2 separate regions of the Homo sapiens genome follow, and region 2 is linked to region 1. The links are contacts of gene promoters, found by promoter capture Hi-C in blood cells and fetal thymus (Javierre and others, 2016). All regions are on one chromosome and are shown on one strand. Each heading gives the region's core, a stretch centred on a gene start or on the middle of the fragment in contact. The rest is flanking DNA. Distances are from core to core; before and after follow the strand shown.

Region 1 (4,485 bases), core at 1,986-4,485:
AGCATAAATGTCTGTTTTCAAGCCTCTCCATCTGTGAGACTGTCATGGCTGCCCTAGCAAATCAATACACTGAGAGACTAAATTTTTAACTTTCATTTAATTTCTTTTTTGTTGTTGTTTTTGTTTTGTTTTTTGAGACGGAGTCTCACTCTATCGCCCAGACTGGAGTGCAGTGGAGCAATCCCAGCTCACTGCAACCTCCACCCTCCGAGTTCAAGCGATTCTCCTGCCTCAGCCTCCCGAGTAGCTGGGATTACAGGCGCCTGCCACCGCACCCAGCTTATTTTTTGTATTTTTAGTAGAGACAGGGTTTCACCATCTTAGCCAGGCTGGTCTTGAACTCCTGACCTCATGATCCACCCACCTCGGCCCCCCAAAGTGCTGCGATTACAGGCATGAACCAATGCACCTGGCCTAACTTTCATTTAATTTCAATGAATTTTCTTTTTTTTTTTTTTTTAATTTTTTTTTAGAGACAGGGTCTCACTCTGTCACCCAGGCTGGCACGATCACCGCTCCCTGCAGCCTCGACCTCCCGGGCTCAAGTGATCCTCCCACCTCAGCCTCTCGAGTAGCTGGAACCACAGGCATGCAACAACATGCTCGGGCTAATTTTTTTAATTTTGGAGGATTTTTTTGTAGAGATGTGGTTTCGCTATGTTGCCCAGGCTGGTCTGGAACTCCTGCACTCAAGCAATCCTCCTGCCTCGGCCTCCCAAAGTGCTGGGATTACAGGCATGAGCCACCACACCCAGCAATTTCCATGAATTTTCAATAGCCGTGTGTGCCTCACAGCTGCTGTGTTGGTGGGTAAATGGCCCCCACACACCGCATTCCCCATCGTACAGTGGAGAAATAATGACTTAAAGCAGAACTTTCTGAGCCCAGGCGGCGGGTGGTGTGGATTCTGACTCTGCTCAGACACTGGACTGGACGGGACTGGCTTGGTCCTGGGAGAAGGTGGGCGAGAGCTGTCTATGAGCTGCAGGTGCTGGAGGCTTCCGGATTTACATCTGCACTGAAACTGTGGCCACCCGCCCCATGGGGCTACCGAAATATAAACAGATTCAAATTAAACACAACCTACACTTCGAAATTCAGTTATCTGCTTGCACCGTAGCCCCGTGGGGCTGGCGTCTCCCATACTGAATGGTGTGGAGCTGAAACGTCTCCACTGGAGTTTCACGGGGCAGGCAGTTGTCAGCCCCTGTGGCTGGCGGGGAGCGTGTACAATCAACCCTGTGCTTCGGCTTCAGTGATTAAACTGTTTTACCCACCGGGAAAGCCGAGGCCGTTCATGCTGAAGGGGATGTGAGGGAAGATTCCCCCAGCCCAGGAAGCCAAGGTGGTGCCTCTGCCAGCCCCAGAGAGTGGGTCCCCAAAAGATGCAGAGGCCAGAGATGGGGCATGGGCCCTGCCATTTCTAAAGGGGAAGTGAACAAGAAGAGGCGGCATTAACTGTCATTGTCACCCCCACTTCCCGCAACGCCCAGAGGTTGTCCACACACACACACACACACACACACACACACACACACTCCACCCTCACAGGGCACTGGCCCGTGGCCCTCTCTAGCAAAGACACACCCGGCTGCCCCTAGATCCACAGCCCCCCTGAGCCACGGCCCCCACGCATGCACGCACCAGGGAATAAGAGGCCGCAACATCACGTACCATGATCGAACTTCAATGTTGCCAGGGCATGCATCCCACAGTCCACCCCTTGCAGCCTGGGAGCCCTACTGAGGCCCAGAGAGGGGCCGGGACTTCCCCAGAATCACACAGAAGCGGGGTTGTGGGGAACCCACTCGCCCCCACACCAGGGTGCTCTCTGCTCCTACGGGGAGGTGGGGTGGTTGCCTCCTTGTCCAGGGTGACCATGGGAAGCCCATTTGGCGTCAGAAGCCCCGAGAGGCCACCGGGAAGACCATGGGGGCCTGTCCCGTTCCCTGCTCCCCATACAGGCGAGGCTGCGTGCACACAGCTTCCTGTACCCCAGGAGGGCCTGCCTGGCACGCACCCGGTGGCTGCACCATCCACACGCAAGACTGCAACTTCAGATGCTCCGCACGCTGGAGATGCTGGACAGGGGCTCCCGCATCCGAAAGCTGAGCGAGCGGGAGCCGCGAAAGCTGTCCCTTGGCCTCAGAGAGCTGTCGGTGGTGGAAGCTCCGGAGTGAGCCTCGACGGCCCGGGCCAGGCAGTCCCCGGGCCCTCGCATGCCCAGCCGGAGACACCCGCAGCAGAGGAAGCTGAGCACGGCTCTGCACACCTCCCTGCTGCGGAAGGAGTAGATGATGGGGTTGACCGCCGAGTTGAGGACGGCCAGGGCCAGGATCCAGTCCATGCCCCGCAGGTACTCCTGGGCCCAGAGGTTGGAGCCAAAGACGTCGGCCAGCAGCAGCCCGAAGAGTGGGCCCCAGCACACCAGGAAGGCCAGCAGGATCATCAGCACCGTCTTCAGCAGGCGGCGGGCCTTGCGGCGGGCCGCTGGGCGTGGGGCCTTCTGCCCGCTGGCCTGCACCAGGCGGAAGATGGCCCCATAGAGGCCCATGATGGTGGCCAGGACGCCGGCGAAGATCACCAGGCAGAAGAGGATGTAGCGCTTGGAGTAGAGGGGCAGAAGGCTGGAGCAGCGGTCAAAGGCGCACAGGCAGTTCCAGCCCAGCAAAGGCAGCATCCCCAGCAGCGCGGCCAGCAGCCAGCAGAGGCCGATGAAGCCGTAGACGCGGCTGGTCTTGGTGGCCCCGCTCTCGGCCACCGGCCGCACCATGGTGGCAAAGCGCTCCCCTGCAGTGAAGAGCAGGCTGAAGGTGGAGGCGGCCAGGGCGGTGAAGAGCAGGCCCTCCCGTAGGAACCACTGGGCGGGCGCCAGACGGAAGGTGCGGGCCCCCGACAGCAGCACGTTGGCCAGGTAGGCCGCGCCCGTGAGCAGGTCACTCAGCGTGATGTTCACCAGGCAATAGTAGACCCAGCGTCGCGACCGCATGTGGCTGGTGATGGCCGCCAGCACCAGCAAGTTCTCCAGCACCACCAGGCAGCTGGCGGCCACCGACAGCCCCCGCAGGGCCCCCAGGCCGCCATCCTCCGGCCCCCCGCGCCCGGCCAGCCGGCCCGAGTGGTTGTAGTGCAGAACAATGAGCCGGCTGTGCCCGCCGGCCGCCAGCTGTTGGCAGGACTCGGGGGCCACCGGGGTCCCCGTGGCGTTCATGGCCTCCCCCGGGGGCTGACTGAGGCCCGACGCAGGGTGGAGCCACCCGCCTTGCTGGTCTTGGTTTCCTGTTATTTGAAATTTCCTGTTATGTTCAAGGTGCCCTCCAGGGTGGAGGTAAGGCCGAGGACAGGGAGGGGCACCCCAACGGTCGGCCCCCACCCGGGCTCCTGGAGCCAACGCGCTGGGGCTGCCCTGGCTGTGAGGACCCCCACCCCTGCCCTGGCTGCCTTCTTCCTGTCCTCGAAAGCCGGAGACCCGCAGGGAGCCCCGGAGCCGTCAGTCACGGAGGGGAAATGAGTCCCCACTCGGGATGGGCCACCCCTTTCCAGCCGGACGACTCCTCCCCACCAGCCCTGATCACCCCCGAAGCACCCGTCGGCTCCACTGAGGTCTCCCCACATGCTCCACCGGCGCTCAGCACACAGCAGGTGCCTAATAAATGTCAAGTGCCTGCATGCCCTTGAGCACTGACTCATCCGACTTGATCCCCGAAACAGGGCCTGATGCGTTACAGAAGAGGAAACTGAGGCCCAGAGAGCCCGGTGCGTTGCAGAAGGGGAAACTGAGGCCCAGAGAGCCCGATGCGTTGCAGAAGGGGAAACTGAGGCCCAGAGAGCCCGATGCGTTGCAGAAGGGGAAACTGAGGCCCAGAGAGCCCGAGGCGTTGCAGAAGGGGAAACTGAGGCCCAGAGAGCCCGAGGCGTTGCAGAAGGGGAAACTGAGGCCCAGAGAGCCCGATGCGTTGCAGAAGGGGAAACTGAGGCCCAGAGAGCCCGATGCGTTGCAGAAGGGGAAACTGAGGCCCAGAGAGCCCGATGCGTTGCAGAAGGGGAAACTGAGGCCCAGAGAGCCCGAGGCGTTGCAGAAGGGGAAACTGAGGCCCAGAGAGCCCGAGGCGTTGCAGAAGGGGAAACTGAGGCCCAGAGAGCCCGATGCGTTGCAGAAGGGGAAACTGAGGCCCAGAGAGCCCGAGGCGTTGCAGAAGGGGAAACTGAGGCCCAGAGAGCCCGATGCGTTGCAGAAGGGGAAACTGAGGCCCAGAGAGCCCGATGCGTTGCAGAAGGGGAAACTGAGGCCCAGAGAGCCCGATGCGTTGCAGAAGGGGAAACTGAGGCCCAGAGAGCCTGATGCGTTACAGAAGGGAAAACTGAGGCCCACAAAGGCGGCCTGAGGCCAACTTTCTGCCCATGGGAGGACACACAGGTCCAGGGAGAGAGACCCCCAGGGACAAGCTGGTAGGGTCTCGGGGCCAGGCGCCCATTTTGGGATTC
Region 2 (5,267 bases), core at 1,526-4,025, 290 kb after region 1:
CTGGGCAACAGAGAAAGACTCTGTCTCAAAAAAAAAAAAAAAAGAAAAGAAAAAAGAAAAAGAAAAAGAAAAGAAAAGAAAAGAAAAATTCCTTCTAGCCCAAAGACCATGATTTTAACCTGATCCTACTTTTTGAGCCTCTCTTATATACCAGGCATTGTAAGCTCAAAACAAAAAATTAGGCTGAAAAGTAATCAAGACACAGCAGGCTCTCAATATAGAATAAGTCCTCGCAGTTCGAGGGCGTGTATTTTTCTGGGAAAAGAGATTTTTTTTAAAAAGTAAAGATTTTAATGTAACAAGTAGAGACTTGATATAAAAAATACGGGTCTTGGGGACCAGGCGCGGTGGCTCACGCCTGTAATCCCAGCACTTTGGGGGACTGAGGTGGGCGGTTCATGAGGTCAAGAGATCGAGATCAGCCTGGCCAACATGGTGAAACCCCGTCTCTACTAAAAATACAAAAATTAGCCGGGCCTGGTGGCAGGCACCTGTAATCCCAGCTACTGGGGAGGCTGAGGCAGGAGAATCACTTGAACCCGGGAAGTGGAGGTTGCCGTCAGCCGAGATCCTGCCACTGCACTCCAGCCTGGCGACAGACCAAGATTTCGTCCGAAAAAAAAAAAAAAATGGGTCTTGGAAGAAAATAATCCACAAGGGAGATAATCGGGAAAACAGAGGGACGTATTTTGCATTTTTTCTATGGATGGTGGGGCATTGGAGAATGAGGATGTATTTATTAATTTATATTTCCATCACTCAGTATGTGTTAAGTAAACACTATCACAGGGACTGCTCAGGGTGTTTGTAAATAGTGTGGAGTGATACCCAGTCCTGCATTCATGGAGTTAACAGAGTAATAATTTCCTACAAAATAAAACTCTCATGGTCCATCTTTATTTATTGATTGATTTTTTGAGATGAAGTCTTGCTCTGTTGCCCAGACTGGAGTACAATGGCGCAATCGTGGCTCACTGCAACCTCCGCCTCCCAGGTTCAAGTGATTCTCCTGGCTCAGCCTCTTGAGTAGCTGGGATTACAGGTGCCCGCCACCACACCCGGCTAATTTTTTGTATTTTTAATAGAGATGGGGTTTCACCGTGTTAGCTAGGATGGTCTCGATCTCCTGACCTCGTGATCTGCCTGCCACGGCCTCCCAAAGTGCTGGGATTACAGGCGTGAGCCACCATGCCTGGCCGGTCCATCTTTATTTTTGCAATGCTCAAAAGCTTTAGGTAATATGATATGTACCTATGAAGTGAAAAGGTCACCAGAGTCTCACCAGTTATTCGGGCCATCAAGTGTGGCTGTTTATAGAGTCCTTTTGAATGAATTGTAAATTGTATTAAAGAGGTGGCCTTCTCAATTTGCTGCTAGTGTAGTCTGAGAGAATCTGTAGCCTAGGAAGCCACAGAGTTGCCCCTGGTTTGTAAAAGGATGTGGTCATCTGCACGGTTTTAATCCAGCATGTGCCCTTTCCTACAAGCAGAATGATAGCTGTGCAAGTTCTTGGTGATCCGGTAGATGCAAGAAGAGCTGTGGATGGTAAGGGAGAGTCTAGGAATAATGAAGGTGAGCTGCAGACACTGTGTCATTTTGAACAGCGTCCCAATTTAGTATCAAAGGATATTTGGCATTCTCAAAAATACTTTGATACTAAATTGGGACGGTGTTCAAAATCCCAAATTTTGGAAAATTTTAATGCCCTTTTATAGGAGATGGTAGTTTTTGTTTTGTTTTGTTTTTGAGACTGAGTCTCACCCTGTCACCCAGGCTGGAGTGCAGTGGCACAATCTCGGCTCACTGCAACCTCCGGAAAGGCCAGATTTTTTTCTAATGAGGCATAATGCCCAAACAGGAGCACATGCTGCTCTTCACACTCATTATTTCCATATGCTCAATTTTCCGATACATGTCACAGCAAAGCAGAAATACAACACCTTTTTGCTGAATTAAACAGCAAGTCGGCCAGGTATGGTGGCTCACGCCTGTCATCCCAGCACTTTGGGAGGCGGAGACAGGTGGATCACATGAGGTCAGGAGTTCAAGACCAGCCTGGTCAACACGGTGAAACCCGTCTCTACTAAAAATGCAAAAATTAACTGGGCGTGGTTGCGAATGCCTGTAATCCCAGCTACTCAGGAGGCTGAAGCAGGAGAATCGCTTGAACCCGCGAGGCGGAGGTTGCAGAGAGGTTGCACCATTGCACTCCAGCCTGGGCGACAGAGCGAGGCTCCATCTCAAAAAATAAATACATATAAATAAATAATAAAAATAAACTCACCTGAACCTTTTTAGATAAGCAAAACCAATTTTTTTCCACTTCCTTGGCAACCGAACAGAGAATGGCGTGAGAAAGAAGAAATCGCGAGCCGTCATTGCTTTCTTGGAACCCAACCTGAAATTAAGAAAGGCCACCAGGGCCATGCCTCTCTCACCTCAGACACAGATTCAGAGAGAAGCGAGAAGGCACCTCTGTCCCCAAGTTCCTGGGGCCTGAGCTCTGCACACACCGTAGGTCTGAAACGTGAACTTCCCTTTGAGGGTCATCCTGGGCGGAATTCCAGTCCTTAGGTATCTGCACGTATTCCCAGGCTTGAGGCCATTTCAACCCTAAATCAGGAATTCCAAGTCTGGTTTTGTGTCTTCTGACTACGAATCTTGCCTAGAGATGCAAAGGTGTGACCGGGTGTGCTGGCTCGCGCCTGTAATCCCAGCACTTTGGCAGGCCGCGGTGGGTGGATCACCTGAGGTCAGGAGTTCGAGACCAGCCTGGCCAACATGGTGAAACCCCGTCTCTACTAAAAATACAAAAATTAGCTGGGCGTGGTGGTGCGCGTCTGTAGTCCCAGCTGCTCGGGAGGCTGAGGCAGGAGAATGGCTTGAACCTGAGAGGTGGAAGTTGCAGGGAGCCAAGATGAGGCCACGGCACTCCAGCCTGGGTGACAGAGCGAAACTCTGTCTCAAAAGAAAAAAAAAAAAAGAGGCCAGGCGCGGTGGCTCATGCCTGTAACCCCAGCACTTTGGGAGGCCGAGGCAGGCAGATCACAAGGTCAGGAGATGGAGACCATCCTGGTTAACACGATGAAACCCCGTCTCTACTAAAAATACAAAAAATTAGCGGGGCGTGGTGGCGGGCGCCTGTGGTCCCAGCTACTCGGGAGGCTGAGGCAGGAGAATGGCGTGAACCCAGGAGGCGGAGCTTGCAGTGAGCCGAGATTGCGCCACCGCACTCCAGCCTGGGTGACAGAGCGAGACTCCGTCTCAAAAAAAAAAAAAAAAAAAAAGAGAGATGCGCAGGTGTCTCATCTTAAGCGTATTCCCCTGGAGGCCTGCCATGTGGCAGTGAGGTGACCGGAAGTAGAAAACGAGGACAATCAGACCTCGAACTCACACCCCTCAGCTACAGGAACCGGCGCTGCCACCTCGTCATTTCAGCATCAATCCTGCAGGCGTCACGCTACGTCACATCCGGGAGAGGCCGCGCTGCCGACAGGTGCAACATGCGGCGGCGACGCCCCACTCTAGTCCCGAACGCTAGCCTGAGGCTCGGGACCGCACATGCGCATTCCCCACGGAGGCCACCGCCCCCTGGCTTCCTGGTAGTCCGTGGACACCAGGCGGTGTCTGTGGTCCCCTCCTTCTCGGGCACCTTGCTCGTCCACTGCTTGGGGCACCACTCGGGGAACCCGAGCGCTTTGGAAATGTGGTTCAAAAAAGGACAGCCCTTAAACGCTAGGGTCCCGCCCCTCAGATTGCTCCCAGCATGCAACGCGGCCCCTCCTCCAAAGCCGCTGTGCCCTGGAGGCAGCTGGGAGCTCCAACCGAGCATGGTGCACAGGTGCAAGCGGGTTGTGCTTCCTGTTTGGGGAGTTGTGTCGTTGGTTTTCCGGAAAGCTCGGAAGGAAGGGGCTCCACCACAATAAGGATTTGTGTATCTAAACATACCGAGCCATGCAAAAGGCACAGTTTTCCAAAGACGTTGTAGCAACTTAGCATTTTTTTAATTTTTATTTATTTTTTCTTTTTAGAGATGGGGGGGGTGGTCTCACTGTGTTGCCCAGGCTGGTCTTGAACTCCTGGGCGCAAGCGATCCTCCCGCCTCAGCCTCCCAAAATGCTGGGACTACAGGCGTGAGCCACTGTGCCAGCCACAACTTAGCATTTCTGTTGCACATATTCAGCAATAGCATTTTCCTGGATGTTTTGGGCTTTCAGTCAGTATGGTAGGGAGTAGTAGTATGTCATTTTCGCTCTAATTTGCATTTCCCTTAAGAAAAAACTGAATTATCATTTAAATATTAGCCACTTGGACAAGCTTCCTTTGTGAATGATTAATCAAATCTGTAATTTTACTTCTCTATTGTGCTGCCTGCCTTCTTAGTAATTTATAGGAGCGTTTAGACTCTGTATGCAAGCCCTTTGCCAGATCTGTGTATCGCACGTTTCTTCTTCCATTCTATAAACTCTCTTTTCACTCTGCTATGGTGCCTTTTGTTTTGTAGCTTCTAATATCTGTTCATTCTATTTTATGGTGTTTTTGTGTTTTCAGAAATGTTTGCTTATTCCAATTCATGATCTCTTATGTTTTCACATTTATCTTCGGTGATAAATCTGGAAACAATTTTCATTTATGGCATGATGTAGAGGTATAGATACATTTTATGTTTGTGTAAAGTTCCTGGCTAAGGGGCAGAGGCAAGGACATGACCAAGCAGACACATATTGGCTGGAAATGCTCTCAGAGAAAGCGGGAGAAGCTCAGCTCAGATCCACGTGGAGATGTACTGAAGAGTTCCGGTAGATGGCGGGTGGTACCAAAGCAGAAAAAATGGTTGTAACCATCAATAAGGCCACGCAGCACTAAATGCCAGCCTACACTGACAGCCACTTGGCAAGACACAAGGTCCAACAGTAGAGGACTTTACAAAGGTTCCTGGGCCCCACGTGTGTGTAGAATGGGTGGGCTGCTTCAGCCATAGCCTTGGTCTGAGCAGCTTCCTAAATACTACAGCCATTGGCTTCGCTTGCTTGAGCTGGTTTAACCCTCTTTTATTAATTCTGACCGATGCTCTCTGCTACCATCTAGTGATAACTAATGAAAACGCAGACTACTTAAAACCTTAAAACAACTGATGTCAGGCTATTTACAAGACTGCAGAGGACAATGACTTGTGCATTTTAGAGCTCAAGCCAGAATAACCTTGCTCTTTTGTGATGGGTTTGACTTTCTTTCATATTGGATTAAATCTAGACTTACTGATGGTG

Evidence for each region. Contacts are between HindIII fragments. The CHiCAGO score rates a contact against its expected background, and 5 or more counts as called.
Region 2: a contact is called between a fragment that was not itself captured here and the fragment with the promoter of S1PR4 in region 1, in 1 of 17 cell types (total B cells). The highest score is 5.3, in total B cells.

What each region holds. Positions count from the first base shown.
Region 1 is chr19:3,177,519-3,182,003 of GRCh38, reverse strand. It overlaps S1PR4 (sphingosine-1-phosphate receptor 4), which reads right to left and starts at 3,235. Exons shown (of 1, transcript NM_003775.4): 1 at 1,672-3,235. The coding sequence starts at 3,211. The coding sequence ends at 2,057. RefSeq lists enhancers at 988-1,037, 1,648-1,877, 1,918-2,097, 2,138-2,787, 4,371-4,485 and a silencer at 3,018-3,567. The HindIII fragment of the contact is 14,219 bases long and covers 1-4,485 here.
Region 2 is chr19:2,887,361-2,892,627 of GRCh38, reverse strand. No RefSeq gene overlaps it. Among named protein-coding and RNA genes, the nearest start is that of ZNF57, 11 kb to the left of the region's middle. RefSeq lists a silencer at 4,866-5,043. The HindIII fragment of the contact is 3,088 bases long and covers 1,232-4,319 here.